Regions from separate parts of the Homo sapiens genome. Here region 2 is linked to region 1. Evidence: promoter capture Hi-C in 16 types of primary human blood cells and fetal thymus (Javierre and others, 2016). All regions are on one chromosome and are shown on one strand. Each heading gives the region's core, a stretch centred on a gene start or on the middle of the fragment in contact. The rest is flanking DNA. Distances are from core to core; before and after follow the strand shown.

What was found. The method cuts DNA at HindIII sites, captures the fragments that hold promoters and counts their contacts. A CHiCAGO score of 5 or more calls a contact.
Region 2: the fragment with the promoter of BOD1 here is called in contact with the fragment with the promoter of FBXW11 in region 1 in 1 of 17 cell types (neutrophils); the score reaches 6.5 in neutrophils.

What each region holds. Positions count from the first base shown.
Region 1 is chr5:172,004,652-172,008,910 of GRCh38, forward strand. FBXW11 (F-box and WD repeat domain containing 11) reads right to left here and starts at 1,987. Exons shown (of 14, transcript NM_001378974.1): 1 at 1,807-1,987. The coding sequence starts at 1,851. RefSeq lists enhancers at 1,152-1,271, 1,871-2,498, 2,042-2,311, 3,754-4,259 and silencers at 1,612-1,721, 1,732-2,011. The HindIII fragment of the contact is 14,963 bases long and covers 893-4,259 here.
Region 2 is chr5:173,614,100-173,618,358 of GRCh38, forward strand. It overlaps BOD1 (biorientation of chromosomes in cell division 1), which reads right to left and starts at 2,551. Exons shown (of 4, transcript NM_138369.3): 1 at 2,101-2,551. The coding sequence starts at 2,337. RefSeq lists silencers at 2,358-2,407, 2,418-2,487 and enhancers at 2,468-2,727, 2,748-2,827. The HindIII fragment of the contact is 8,451 bases long and covers 1-4,259 here.

The DNA.
Region 1 (4,259 bases), core at 737-3,236:
ACAATTTTTCGATATGAAGTACTTCTGTTGTAAGTACATGCACTGTGTGTACATTCTTAAGAATATGTAATATACTTAGTCGATTTAAGATAGTTACCAAAATAACCCACTACAAAAGTTACAGAATACCAAACACTTGACTACAAGTATGATAAATTATGCTGAAAAGGAAAAATCACTCAGTATGTGACATCCCTTTGAAAACAACCCCACGTGCACACACACACACACACACACACACGCATGCAAAAATCAAAAACTATCAGTTTCTTTTTTTCCCTCCTAGTTTTCAAGAATGCTAGAGAAGTCCAGTTCTGTGAATTATGCAAAGGACAGCAAACATTAAGCTGCCTCCATATTTATGCTACTGTACTTCCATTTTTAAAACAAGCATCTCAACTCCCCAGACACCATCATCCACAGAAACCATGCAGCTATCCAACAGACTTTCAGTGTCACCATTTATTATTTATAGCGTTAAATGGGGGAAGTGGCTCTGATGTCACCAACCCTACCCAGTGGAATCACTGACTCAATAAACATTTTCACACTGAAGAAAATCTGGCTAGGAAAACATTTTGCTGGGTTAAGTAGATTCTTCCACCTCTCCTCTCAACCCTGGGGAAGAAGTTGTTACCGTGTTAGGAAAGATACAAAGAAACTGTCAAGGCTTCCATAGGAAGAAATCCTGGACATGTCCATTTGCTGATGCAGACTTCCTCTTCCCAGCTCTCCAGAGCCCAATTTGATTTCCCTCATGTTCACGTTGGCAGGTAATATCTGCCATATTTTATTTCTTCCACCAAATCATCCATCAATTAGCAAATTCTTCACTTCTAGCCACTCTCTCACTGTCCTGTTCCTAAAAACCCCTTCTGGTTTCAAATCCTAAAGCTTCGGAGGAGGGTGGAGGGTGTCCACGGACCGGGAGTCTGGCCTGGCTGCCAGTGGTTTCTAACAGAAGAGTGGTCGCTTCCCCCGGGGGCCAAGGATTCCCCTCTTTTTTTTTTCTTTCTGAGAAGAAAGACCTCGCGGCAGTGATGAGGATGGCTCCCTCCCCAGTCATCTCCAATTTCCCAAAGCAGCTCTGGAAAACGTGAAGTTGCGCCTTCTCTTTCCTGGAGGATGGAATCCAGAGTACCTGGGCCCTTGCTATGCAAACATCCCTCTCCGCCGGGTAGGAAACCCTTTGTCCGAGAAGCCGGACACCACAAGGGCCCGGGAAAGAGGCCTCCTTATCCGCCACAGCCTCAAACCCGAAAGCTCCCTGCCCCCCCAGCTCTGTAGGGCCTATCCTGGCATCCACACAGACCTAGGCTGGGGAGTGGGTGCTGAGACCTCTCCTAGGACGCGGAGGCCCAGGCGGCCCCAACCCATCTCCGTACTCCTTCCCACCATCTCACTCGGCCTGAGTGGGGCTTGCAAGCGCGGTGCGGGCCTGGGCCGAAACAGAGGAAAGAAAAAAAAATCCCTTTCTAAAAGAAGGAGAATGGGGTGCTAGAGCGAGTGCGACCTAAGTCTACAGCATAAACGAGCGAGGGTCGTCCGAGAGCTGGGACCGGAGACGGGACCAGGGGGAGGGGGAGAAGCGAGGGGCATGGAGGGGGCCGGGCCAGGACCGGCCGGAGATGTCGAGGGATCAGAGGAGCCCGCGCCAGGTCCGAGGCCAGGGAAGGCTGGGGGCCCGGGTCTGGGTCGAGGCGTCTGGGAAGGGCCAGAGCCGGCCTCGCACCGGACGTTGAGGTGGGCAGGCCCGCCCGGGGCCGGACGGACGGAAGCACAGACGGTCCAGCGGGCCGCACTCACCATGAGCTCGATGGTCTTGTCCTCAATCACCGAGTCGGGCTCCATGGCGGCCCCGGCGGCCCCGCCTCGCTCTCCCCGCGCAGCAGCGAACGGCCCGGGCGGAGGAGGCGACGGCGGAGGCGGCAGAGGCGGAGGCGGCTATCGCACCCACTCTAGCTGCCAGCCCGCCCGGGCCGCCGGCAGCTCCGCCCTCCCCCTCGGCGAACGCAGTACGCAGATCGGGGACTACACCTCCCAGCAGGCGCCGCGGCCCGCAGAGCGTTGTGGGACCGAGCCTCTGACACCAGGTTGCTGGCTCTTGGCAGCCCGAAGCTGAACTCCGAGCTGAGAGTAGCACTGGACGGTGGGCGTAGGACGTGCAGACCTGAAGAGTTAAGAGCTTGCTCATGGCAGGGCCTCGAGAGCGCCACGACTACGTGTCCCAGAAAGCCGTGCGCCCGGGTTGTCCTTCCGGCTAGCTTCTCTTGACTTCCTGGCAGCCCAAGGCTGCCCAGACCGGGACGGAAACTCCGAGGCAACTCCTCACTTGTCGGAGGTCCTGCGTATGCGACCCATTTCCGCACATGCGCGGTCCATGCCGCAGTGCTCCCTAGACGCCTAGGTAGCTGCGCGGCCCGTCCGGCAGTGTCTGATGGTAGGGGCAGATGGTGGAGACAGGTGGGTTCTAGGTGCGTTAGGAAGGTGTATAGACCTGGGGCTCAGGTGTGGGAAGGGGCCAGCGAGTGAGAGAAGCTCGGCCTGGGGAAGAGGCTCTGAGAGGATGGGCATCCCAGGAGTGAGAGTTTCGAGATTTCTTCGGGAAAGACGGGGTTTTGGGAAATGTGCTGTGGTGCTGTCTGTATGTCACACGATCTGCGAGGAGCTGCGAGATTAAAGGGGACGTGCGTATATCGAGCCCCTCATTCATTCGTTCAGAAAATGGTTATTTTTTAAGCATCCAGCTTCCGCTGCGTACCGTTCTAGGCGCTGAGAATCAGCTCTGAACATGACAGACAAGGCTCCTGTTCTCATGGAGCTTAATTCTGGTGGAGGGACGACAGACACTAACCAAAAGAGTGGCTAAGAAGGAACACACAAGCGGAGACTCCTTCTAGTGAACTCAGCCTCCAACTCTGTGTAACTTAGGTCTGTCCGTGCCCTCTAACCAAATCCCACCAGGAAGACACGGATCGTTGAACAAGCTGGGTTTATTACTAGTTGCAGTGACTGAGAACACACATTGAGGAACGATAGGGCCTCTCGGTAAGAGTTGTTAGTGATTTGGGAGAGGGTTTAAGGAAGTGAGAGCTTCACTGGATTAGATACTGTCAGGAAGAGAGGGTCGTTCCATGATTGAGCATCTCAGTTCATCTTATCTAGAGGAAGGGAATTCTAGATTGAGGCTAAAGCTGTGCAGATAAAGAAACAGCAGCCTGGCCGGGCGCAGTGGCTCACGCCTGTAATCCCAGCACTTTGGTAAACCGAGGCAGGCGAATTGCTTGAGCGCAGGAGTTCCAGACCAGCCTGGGCAACATGGCGAAACTCTTCTCTACAAAAAATACAAAAATGAACCGGGCCTGGTGGTGCGCGCCTGTCATCTCAGTTACTTGGGAGGCAGAGGTGGGACGATCGCTTGAGCCCAGGAAGTGGAGGTTTCAGTGAATGGAGATCGCACCACTCCACTGTACCCTGAGTGATAGAGCCAGACCTTGTCTCAAAAACGAAAAAAAAAAAAAAAAGTGCAGCAGCAGCTCCCTCATATTAGCCAAGTGGGGATGTTGAGTCATTTTTTGTGGTTTGGACAATCATCAGGTTTTATCTTTTTATCGTGTTTAGACCTGATTATAGAGTGGTCTTGTATTTGTCTGGATCTATCATGGTCACAGAATGACCTCGTCTGATGTTGATGTTCTTTGGAATTGTTTTTGTTCTACAGGAAAACACAAAGCCTAGCTATAAGGGCCAGGCTGTGGTCTAGTAACATCATGGCATGGCTGATTGTACCAGGCCAGCTTCCAGATATCAGAGGCTGCTTTTCACTTTCTCAAAGTGTTTTTGCATTCTCTGCACCTATAAAGTCAAAGAGGCTGGATGACCTAGAAATCTTTCCATTACCAAGGACCAAGTTACAGTAATTTGCATGCATTCAGGACACAGTATAAGTTCCCTGCAGGTAGACTTTGAAGTTTCATAGTCCTTACCTGGTGCTTTTCACCAAGGGAATTGAAAGAAAAGCAATAGGAAGAGCACAGAATTGGAAAGTTCTTACCACTGTCATGCTATCTGAATTTCACCAGGTCCGTTCCACTATGGCCCTTAGGACATTCATTAGTAAAACAAAGGGATTAGATATGACCTCTATTTCAGTTACCTGTTGCAACACAACAAACCTCCGAAGACTTAGTAGCTTAGAATAACAATGGTTTATTATGATTTTACAATTGTGTGGGCTGACCCGGGCTCAGCCGGGGCCC
Region 2 (4,259 bases), core at 1,301-3,800, 1.6 Mb after region 1:
GAGATGAAAGACAGAACGAATGGGGAATATCTGGTTCCAAACGCACGCCTACCACCCTCTGGGAGAGTTTGTTCGTTCAATCCTTCCCTGGATTCCGTAAGACAATAGATTCTCCCCTTTGCATAAAGCAGTTAGGATTATTTTTGTCCCTTGTAAGCATAAATCCTGATGCCATACCGTCTACTCAAAATAACGCACCTGGTTTGAGATGATACGAACTGTTTACCGAAAAAGGACAAAGGACAGTGAACATCACCACCAAAACACGTAACAAACCCAGGCGATACAGAATCATCTCAGTTCAAGAAGTCAAAGGAACTCATGAGCCCACTCATAACGTTTTACTGTACTACCAACCCCTCCACCTGTTCACTTATCAGTTCAAAGTAAATTACAGTGCAAAGTAAATTACAGACATCTGTTCAATTTCCCCTAAATACTTCAGCAGTCTGGGGTGGGGCCCAAAATGTGCATTTCTAACAAGTTCTCAGGTGATGCTGATGTTAATCCAAGCACCACGCTTTGAGAACCACTGGGCTGAAGCAACAAAGGTCTCAGATAAGATATGCCTGAAAAAACACTATCTTCAAGAACTAAAACAACCTGGAATTCTCAGAAGGAACAGCTAAGGAGCTGTACATGGGAAGGTTCCAACCACTCTCCCTCACCAGCCGCTCAAGAGGGTAGTCCCCTCCCCCCTCAGGGGATACGTTCCAAGATCCCCAGTGGGTGCCTGAAACCTCAGGTAGTACTGAACCCTATATACACTACGCATGAATGTCTTTGAGGGCCATTATGAAGTAAAATAGGGGTTACCTGAACACAAGTACTTCCATACCGCAACAATTGGGTAAATGAAACCGCAGAAAGCAAAACCTTGGATGGGGCGGGCTACTGTAGTCGCTTTTGTTTTAAAATCACACACAAAACCTAACGGAATATAAGAAATATGAATGGAGAACTTGTCCTAGGAAAGGTGAAAGCTCTGTCAATACAGATCTGGGATGTATATGTATTAAATTACTTTGTTTCAAGGACAGACTTCTAGTTGGGCTTTTCATCTTGGAGAAGGAACAGTGTATACCACTTTCTCTCTCTACATCCGTATTTACCACCTGGTTTATTTACATGTCAGTTTTCTAACCTAGACTATAAGTTTTGAGGATGGGGTAGTGACTTATTCCTGTAATCGCACAGCTTGGCAACTAGAGGCCAATAAACGTTCAACGAATAAACAGACTACGTTTTTCCCTATCTTAAGGTCTAATTCTAAGCTCACAATCTTGCTGTGAGGTAAGCAAAATGTTTCCATGACAGGCTCTGGTAGGAGAAATCACTACCCTGCAGGAGTCCAGTGACAGGGTCTCCTAACCTACAACCACAGTCGTGGCTAGACAAGTTTTGAAAAGGAAGAAAATGAACATTCCAGCAACTACTGTATGTCTGATACTTAACACCCATTATTTCATTGAATCCAAACCACCCTGACGAGTAGGTAAAGTGAAATAGCGTTTTACTGGTGGGACTGACCAATGGCATTAGGATCTCAACTAGGCACCAAATCTCCTTTTATCAATGATGAAGTGCAAAATAAGGGTGCTGTTTCTACAATTTATCTTAATTCAACGCCGTACTAGTCTGCAAAACAATGAGCTAGAGAAAAGGAATAAACAGCTATAAAATGGTGATGACTGTGTGTTCAAATCATTGTGTTTAATGCCAGCTTCTCAGTGGTGAGTACGGAACAGGTGGAAATTCTAAAGCACGCTTGCTTATCTACTTGGTTTCGAAGTTTGTTATTAAGGGCCTCAGAGGAGTTCCATCTTGGGAATGATACGGTCTAGGCTCTAAAACCCACATTGAAACCCCAAGTTCGGAGAAGGGACTGGGTAAAATCACAACTAGTAGTAAATGTATCAGGCAGGAACCCACGTGTGCATCGCTCAGAAAGCTCTCCGTACTGCCCCAAGCGGTGTAAGACCTCACCGCTGAGATTTCTAAGCTATCTTTTGTTTTGCTCTCGGCTTTCGAAAATCAAAGCTGCCACCCGGCGGCCTCACGTGCAGCCCCGCTCCCCAACGCCCAGGCGGCCGCAGCTACCTTGGTGTCCACGTCGGCCAGGCAGTCCCGGCGGAAGCTGTCAAAAAGGCCCCGGCTCTTGAGCTGCTCCACGATGAGAGCGATGAGCTGCGGGTCGCCGGGAGGCAGCGAGGCCGGGTTGATGGGGCCACCGCCCCCGCTGGCCCCAGTAGCGCCAGTCGCTGCCCCGGCAGAGGCCTGGCTAGTTCCGCCGCCGCCCACCGCGCCAGTTCCCCCGCCGCCGCCGCCGTCCGCCATGGCTGCGCCCCGGGCCCACAAGGGAGAACGACTATAGCTTCTTCTCCAGGACAGAAGGCCTAGAACGTGTAGAGGTGGTGAAGGGGGCGGTGAAGGAGGAGGGCCCCAAGGCGGCAGCGGCGGAGGTGGCGATGGCGGCAGGGGCGGTGGTGGGGGCGGCGGCGGCGAAGGCCCCCTCTGATACAGCAGAGGTTGTGGTGGACGCGGCAGAAACGGCCTGCTCGATTCCAGGCGCACCCCAGATGGCGTCAACGTTGACCTTTGCATTGTGGGGCGGGAAGTTTTCTGTGGCCATCTCCGGCGTTCTTTATAGGCAGCGGCCTAGCCGAGAGAAACTACAACTCCCGGCAGGGTTCGTGCTTGCTCGTCGCGATTTCGCGGGGTAATATGGGAACTGTAGGCGCAGGCCTCGTGATCGCTGCAACCCGCCAGGCCTTCCCCGCCAGGCCTTCCCCGCCCACTCTCTGCTCACTTCCCATTCAATCAACACGTCCCAGCAGTGCCCGATTATAACAGTCATCTGTGGAGCTGATTAAAAGTATAGATTACCAGAATTATTTCTTAAAGATTTTTATCCAGTATTTACGGGTCGAGACCTAGCAATCTGTGCTTCAGCATGCACTCCCACGTCCTTCTTGAACAACATGTTCCGGGAAATTCCGGAAACAGTGGAACAGTCAAACTTCTATTGTTCAGAAATTTGTGAGTTTCCCTCCTTTTGGTTTTAATAGCAATGCATACTCATTTTAGAAAATTGGAAAATAACGGAAAAGTGTGAAGAAGAAAATAAAAGTTTTCCTTAAGTCTGTCTTATATGTGTGTGGATTTCCTCCCAAATATTAAATATTGTCAATCATAAGCCAATATTGAATAATTGAAAAGTGTCAGGCGTGATGCTATGCACTTTCCACGCACTTCTTCACGATAATTTAAAAAAGCAGATACATACTACTATTATTGCTATTTACAGACGTAGAAATGGAGGCAGAAGAAAGTTTGTTAACCTAATCACATACCTAGAGGTAGAAAAGTAGGATTTGAACCCAGGTTTTGAGGATCTAAATCTTGCATTTTAGCCTGAGGTATCCTGAGAGCTAGTTGGTATCCCACAATAGGTAAGGCTTTATATCCTGATTTTTTTAAGTAGCCACAATTCACCATTGGAATCCTATAGCTGCCACCATTATCCTCTCTTCCCTTCATCTTTTGCCTATTGTTAGCTCAGCTCCCCCTCCCAACCTCAGCAATTATGTCTGCTATTGTTGTTTCCTCATCTTACACAAGCAGCAGAGGGGATGTAAATAGCAAATTCTGCAATATCCTTGGCTCCTGCGAAGATGCAGAATTGGCAAAGATCCAGGATGTTCTCCACACCAATATTTAGTACTCAAGACAGTTTAATTTTTTTTTCTTTTTTTTTTTTGAGACAGAGTCTCACTCTATCGCCCAGGCTGGAGTGCAGTGGTGCAATCTTGGCTCACTGCAGCCTCCACCTCCTGGGTTCAAGCAATTCTCCTGCCTCAGCCTCCCGAGTAGCTGGGATTACAGGCGCATGCCACCATACCTGGCTAATTTTAGTATTTTTAGTAGAGATGGGGGTTTCACCATGTTGGCCAGGCTGGTCTTGAATTCCTGACCTCAAGTGATCTACCCGCCTCAGCCTCCCAAAGTGCTGGGATTACAGGTGTGAGCCACCACACCTGTCCAAGAGAGTTTAAATTAACCCTCAAAAGAAACATTCAGGTGTTGGATTATACTCATCCTCTAACACCAGCTCAATCATTCACAATGGGTCAGTTAATGACAAACATTCTCTCTTAATAGCTCACCATCCTTGAGATTACCTAATGTCTGTTCCTACTGGTTGACTCTACACTGATCACTCACCTTTAACCCCAGGAGAAGCCCAGTTCAGGCTGCCT